2 separate regions of the Homo sapiens genome follow, and region 1 is linked to region 2. The links are contacts of gene promoters, found by promoter capture Hi-C in human tissues and cell types (Jung and others, 2019). All regions are on one chromosome and are shown on one strand. The core of a region is centred on a gene start or on the middle of the fragment in contact, and the rest is flanking DNA. Distances in the headings are between cores, read along the strand shown.

Region 1 (3,316 bases), core at 398-2,897, 64 kb after region 2:
AATCCACCACATGTGTTTCCCACCGGTCGACAGACATGAAAACACTTCTCCATAGCCTGTGTCAGTGACTTAGGTTTGGGGTTTGAGGATTTTGCAAGATCCCCAGATCGAAGGACAGGAGAAATTGCACTTAAGAGTCCTAGGAGGCCTGGCCAGACCAGCGGCTCACGCCTGTAATCCCAGCACTTTAGGAGGCCAAGGCGGGAGGATTGCTTGAGCCCAGGAGTTTTCGACCATCTTAGGCAACATGGCAAAACCCCGTCTCTATTAAAAACACAAACATTAGCCAGTTTCTCGGGAGACTGAGATGGGAGGATCACCTGAGCCTGGGGAGGTCAAGACTATGCTGAGCCATGATCGCGTCACTGCACTCCAACCTGGGTACCAAGAGTGACACTCTGTCGCTAAATAAATAAATTCCCAGGACATTAAGATCTAGACATATAGGTGAGGATGAGGACCAGTGAGGGACTAGAGCATCCTATACTTCCTTCTGTGGGTTCCTTAAATACTTCCATAGCCATGAGAAGGTGTGCCAAAAGGCGGAGCTTTCAGGAATGTGTCCCTGCTGGGATTTGATAGACTCAGGTTTCTCTGTAAGCTTTTTTTGGCCCTGTAGCCAGGTGACCTCAGGCTGAGTCTCTAATCTTGTGGCCCAGTGCTCAATGTCACCTCTTACCAGCTACGTGACCTTGAGCAAATATTCAACCTCTCAATGCCTCACTGTCCTCATCACCGCCTTACACTCCGTTCTTCCTTTGAACATCTTTTCGGAATCTTTAACTCTAACACAGATTTCCTCCTTTGTTCAAAACTGTCCATGGCTTCTACGGTCCTCACAAAGATCAATCCTCAGCCTGGTACTGAGGAAATAACTCCGACTCATACTTTGTTCTCAGTGGACACAAGATGTCCCTGTGTTCCGAATCCTCCTGGCGCAGTCGTGCCTCCAGGCCTTTGCCTAAGCCGGTCCCTCGGCCAGTCTCGCTCTCCCGACCGCATCAACCGGTGTCGGAAACAGGGATTCCACCCGCCGGCGCCTCTAGGTCCCTGACAGAGGCCTGAGCTGCAAGGACGCGAGGAAGCGCCCCTCACAGTCAGGGGTCTCAGGGTCTGTGTGGGGATGGCGGGTGAGGCCTGGAGGTCGCAGGGCTCACTTGAGCGGCCGCCGCCACGACTTCATGCGCGGGCGGGGACGCAGGCCAGGCGGTTCCTGTGCTCGTCCTGTCCCAGGTCGCGACCAGCGGCGTCGCCAAGCCTCAGATCCGCCTGTGTGCAATGGGCACAACCACTCCTCTCGCGCGCTCTCGGTCCTGACAAAGAGGTACAGACGCAGCATAGGTGGATGGTCCCGACAAGCCAAAATGGCCACCGCGGCGAGGACGCAGGAAGTCCCTGCTTGACGTTACGTGCCTCCGCAATGGCGCGGCTTCTCTGAGGCTTCAATGGGCTTTCCAATTCACAGAGACGATTCCGGGTAATATTTAAGTTCCGAGAGACGCGCGGCGCTTAAAGGCCGCCTCCAACCTGACTTTCGGAAGAAGGGGCTAAGCTCCACCGCGACGGGCGTTAGGAAATGGCAACTCCAGGTCCAGTTGCAGAGGAGGCTCCCCCATCTTAGAAGAGGCCATACGCGCATTTCTGCGGGTACTGTGTGCAACCGATTACCCGTGTGTTTGGAGACTTATTTCAGAATTTGTGATGCTGAGCTTCTTCGCAGATCTAAGACATCATTTGAGATGCCATCAAGAGCCACGAATCAAAATGGACATTTCATTACATAGGGTCATAAAGACATAAATTGCATCTACTGGAAGCTAAAGCTAGTGTGTGTGTGTGTGTGTGTATATATATATATATATATATATATATATATATATATATTTTTTTTTTTTTTTTTTTTTTTTTTTTTTTAGAACGGAGTCTGGCTCTGTAGCCCAGGCTGGAGTGCAGTGGCGCGATCTCGGCTCACTGCAAGCTTCGCCTCCCGGGTTCACGCCATTCTCCTGCCTCAGCCTCCCGAGTAGCTGGGACTACAGGTGCCCACCATGCCCGGCTAATTTTTTTGTATTTTTAGTAGAGACGGGGTTTCACTGTGTTAGCCCGGATGATCTTGATCTCCTGACCTCGTGATCCGCCCGCCTCCGCCTCCCAAAGTGCTAGGATTACAGGCGTGAGCCACCGCGCCCGGCATAAAGCTCATAAATATTTTTAAAGGCTATATATACATATAATACATATGAATGTATATGCATGCTTTGTACTACACATAAATTTGTAAAAATTTCATTATGATTTGAAAATTAACCAGTTATTTTAAATGGAATGAGAATTAAAAAGTATTACAGTAACATTCTGACTTAGAATATTGACATAATATTCATTCATTACTTATATATATGTTTTGTTGAGACGGTGTCTTGCCCTGTCGCCCAGGCTGGAGTGCAGTGGTGTGATCTCAGCTCACTGCAACCTCCGCCCGGAGGGTTCAAGCAATTCTCCTGCCTCAGCCTCCCAAGTAGCCAGGATTACAGGAATGTGCCACCACACCCAGTTAATTTTTGTATTTTTTAGTAAAGACAGGGTTTCACCATGTTGACTCGGCTGGTCTCAAACTCCGGACCTCAGGTGATCCACCTGCCTTGGCCTCTCAAAGTGCTAGGATTACAGGCGTGAGCCACTGCTCCAGGCCAGTAGTCACTTATATTTTATCAGGCACATTTTACTGAACTGGATTTTATTATCTTATTTATTTGAGATGAGTCTCACTCTGTCGCCCAGGCTGGAGTGCAGTAGCACATCTCGGCTCACTGCAACCTCCGCCTCCCGGGTTCAAGCAAGTCTCCTGCCTCAGCCTCCTGAGTAGCTGGGTCTACAGGCACATGCCGGCTCGTCCGGCTAATTTTCTGTATTTTAGTAGAGACAGGGTTTCACCGTCTTGCCCAGGGTGGTCTCGAACTCCTGAGCTCAGGCAACCCGCCTGCCTCAGCCTCCCAAAGTGCTGGGATTACAGGCGTGAGCCACCGCACCCGCATGAACTGAATTTTTTTAAAGAGACTATGTCGCCCAGGCCTTACTCAAACTCGAGCTCATGTAATCCTCCTGTTTCAGCCTTCTGAGAAGCTGGGACTACAGAGCCATGGTGCCTGGCTTTAAAGTAAATTTCTTAAGAGTCTAAAATTCTCCAGCTTCCTAGTGCATTCAAATGAAGAATGATTGAAATAAAAATGCTACTTGTTTTCCCAAGTTATTCTCTGTTGCTAACATTTTATTAATTTGAAAAAGTAAAACTTGCATTAAAATTCTGGAAAGAAAA
Region 2 (3,363 bases), core at 845-3,344:
CCTTTCTTGTCCCTGGAACCAGGTAACCCTAAGGCTGGTTGTCTGACCTGCTTTTCTCAGTGCAAAATGTCATCTCTACCATCTATGTGATCTACAAAACGGATTCAACCTCCCAAGGCCCCAAAGTCCTCATCCTCTCTCTCTATGATGTTCTTCCTTTGATTGGCCTTTGGGAAACTTCTTAAAAGCCTGGATTTGGATCATGTCCCTCCTTTCTTCAAAACTCTCCATGGCTTCTAGAATCCTCATGATGAATGCACAGCCCCTGGCCTGCTTGCTCTACCAGGAAGAGCTCCATCTCACACGTTGTTCCTGACAGATGCCTGTGAACCCCAGGTTCCATCCTTCCAGCTCTGTCCATCTGCAGGCCATTGCCTGCACCCCTACCTGTGCCTGTCACTCTCCCCACTGCATCCCACTGGTGTCAGAAACAGGTGAAACCGACTTTGCAAAATTATAACTGACGAAATTATGACAGTGAAAGAAATCAGACCTAACCGACTCCATCTTGCTTCCAACCTTTCAGCCGTCTTTTTTCATTCCTGGGCATAGGCTGAATTAACTTTGGAAAAGAATTCAGTTCATGGTTTCACTCTGAAACAAAATTGATAATAGCCCTTTCCTGAAAAGACCCCTTTCTTGCCTGGGGACCAGCCTGTCTTTGCAGGACTAACAAATTAGCTACAAGAATAGAAATTACGGTTTAGGGGTCATGCAGCTTCTGGCTCCAAGAGTCTGAACCTCCCCAAGTTGCTCCTGAAGATAACCTTACTATTGTAAAACCTAATGTGAGTTTCTGGGGTGCTAGTTGAGTTGGTCTCCCCTGTGTGAGACACCCATGGGAAGCCATGGGCGGCCTCTGAGGAGAAAAGTCTCCTTATTGCCTTCATGTCTTTATGCCCCGAGAGCATAACTCTTCAGCAGCATTCCATGGGTTGCTCAGGGAGATCACACTCCCTTGAAGCAGTGGAGCATAATCAAACATCTTGGCTCCTCCTGAAACCCGCAGCCACCCGTTTCAGTTAAGTTAAAGATCTTAAGTAGTTTAGACACACGCCTTTGTTCAAGGAAATTCACAGAAACGGCCAGTGCTTTACATCTTATGGAATGACTCACGAGTTCTCCTTTACTGATTAATCCTTTTCCTGATCGCTTCCTCCCCCTCCAATCAGCCATAAGAACAAAGAGCTTGTAAACCAATAAACTGGGTGGAGCCCAAGAGCTCTGGGCCGCCAGGAAGCCTCCAATGCTCTGGCCACCTGGACCCGCCTTTTAAATGCGTATTCTGTCTCTTTCTAACTCCTTTGTCTCCGCAGGACTCGGGGTATCTGCTGGGTGGTGTGGGGCTGGTTTCCCCAATATCTAAGATCAGTGCTTGGGGCATTTTGCAGATCCTGCACTGGATGGATCAGCGGACAACACACAGACCGGTAATCTGGGTCAATCAGTTCTGCCATCCCACCCAGAACAGAAAACAGCATGAAAAACTCACTTTAACCCCCTATGAATCCATCTCCAACCAGACTGATCAGCACTCCCCACTTCCCAAGCCCCTACCCGCCAAATTTTGAAAACTCTGATCCCAGAATGCTCAGGGAGACTGATTTGAATAATAAAACTCCTGTCTCCCGAACAGCAGGACGGCTCTGCGTGAATTACTATTTCTCCATCGCAATTCCCCAGTCTTCATAAATCGGCTCTGTCTAGGCAGCTGGCAACGTGAACCCACTGGACGGTTACAAGGAGAGGCCTCCTGTGAGCGCCTCAGTGTTCCTACGCCGGGTACCGGCTACAGACCCACGAGCAGGAGCCGCTCCCTCGCTGGTTTAGGACCTGGGTGACGATGGGGTGACCTGAGGGCACAGAAGGCACCACAATTACCTGAGTTGGGCGCCTCGGCACAGCCGCTGCCATCGGACTACTTGGGGAAGCACGGCCCGGGAGCAGTGGTCGCCGTCACGGGGCTGCAGAGCCGCCTCTGGGCACCGAGGACGATTCCTCTCCACCTTCTAGGTTCAGTCACCGCGGTCCCACCCAGCACTCAGGGGCCACAAACTGGGGAAACACCCGCATCGCCGATACACAGCCGCTACTAGAGACCCCGGAAGTCTCGGCCTTACGTTACGTGCACACGTGGAAATGCCTTCTTTCCGAGTGCTCACTGGCTCTGACCGGCTGTCGTTTAAAGCAGAGCTTTCTGGGTAATGTAGTTCCCCACTTTCCATGACACAACATGGTTACCAGGTTCTGAAATGTTCATGGCTCAGATGCACCTCCAAGCCTTTGTACCTATTGGTTCCTCTACCTGTATTACTCTAGCTGGGGTGAAGCCTGTAATACACAGCATTTACCTGAGCTAGGTCCCTCAGTGTGGCTGCTGCCATCAACTGTGGGTGGAGCAGGCATCACCCCAGCCAGTGCCTATGAGCCTCAGACCTGCCACTTGGGAGCAGAGATGACTACTCCTCTTGTGCCTTCTCAGTCCCAACCCAGTACTCCCTGGCCTGACAAGCATGCCCAGAAATCCCTCATCCTGGGCCTTGCAACTAGCGCCTTCTGGGTAAAGTACTTCCCAGAGCTCTCAGCCAACAATGGTGGTATCCTCCAAGAGCAAACCGAATGCAGACCATGTTACATTCTGAGGGCTGCTGGAAAGCCCTGCTCACACCTCAAAGGAGGAAGATTATTGATTCTTTGTAAAAGCATCAAATAGGTATCACATCAGACTCTAGGAAGCTCATCCTGCACCCAGAGAATAAAAATACTATTTGAGATGCTCCCAAACTTTACTTATCTAAGTGGCCATATCATTGGCATCATTCAGACTTACAATGTGTGCACTCAGAGCTGAGAACATTAAGTATTGATTGCTCTTTAAATTCACGTAGACTGAATCATTACAGTCAGTTTTGCGAGTTTCATTGTTTTGTTGGGAACAAAAGAAAATTCTCCATAAGACATGATGACAGGATGGGTACAAAAAACAGTGAGCAAAAATGAATAAGACCTAATATTTGCTACCATAACAGGGTGGCTATAGTCAAAATAATTTAATTATATATTTAAAAATAACTAAAAGAGTATAACTGGACTGTTTATAATACAGAGGATAAATGTTGAGGTGACTGAGACCCCATTTACCCTATGTGATTATCACATATGGCATGGCTACATCAAAATATCTAATGTAATCTACAAATATATACACTACTATATACCCACAAAAAATAAAAATAAAGGCCAGACATGGTGGCTCACACCTGTAATCCCAGCACTTTGGGAGGCCAAGGCAGGTGGATCACCTGAGGTCGGGAGTTCGAGACCAGCCTGGCCAACATGGAGAAACCGTGTCTCTACTGAAAG

Evidence for each region. Contacts are between HindIII fragments. The study calls those that stand out against the background at their distance.
Region 1: a contact is called between a fragment that was not itself captured here and the fragment with the promoter of ZNF587 in region 2, in 1 of the 25 tissues and cell types used here (bladder).

The regions. Positions count from the first base shown.
Region 1 is chr19:57,784,358-57,787,673 of GRCh38, reverse strand. No RefSeq gene overlaps it. Among named protein-coding and RNA genes, the nearest start is that of ZNF586, 16 kb to the right of the region's middle. RefSeq lists enhancers at 678-1,296, 1,297-1,916. The HindIII fragment of the contact is 4,625 bases long and covers 1-3,316 here.
Region 2 is chr19:57,848,590-57,851,952 of GRCh38, reverse strand. ZNF587 (zinc finger protein 587) reads right to left here and starts at 2,094. Exons shown (of 3, transcript NM_032828.4): 1 at 1,882-2,094. The coding sequence starts at 1,914. LOC124904782 (a long non-coding RNA gene) reads left to right here. Exons shown (of 2, transcript XR_007067358.1): 2 at 1,392-1,638. RefSeq lists enhancers at 453-1,652, 1,707-1,796, 1,847-2,086, 2,257-2,316, 2,387-2,496. The HindIII fragment of the contact is 32,917 bases long and covers 1-3,363 here.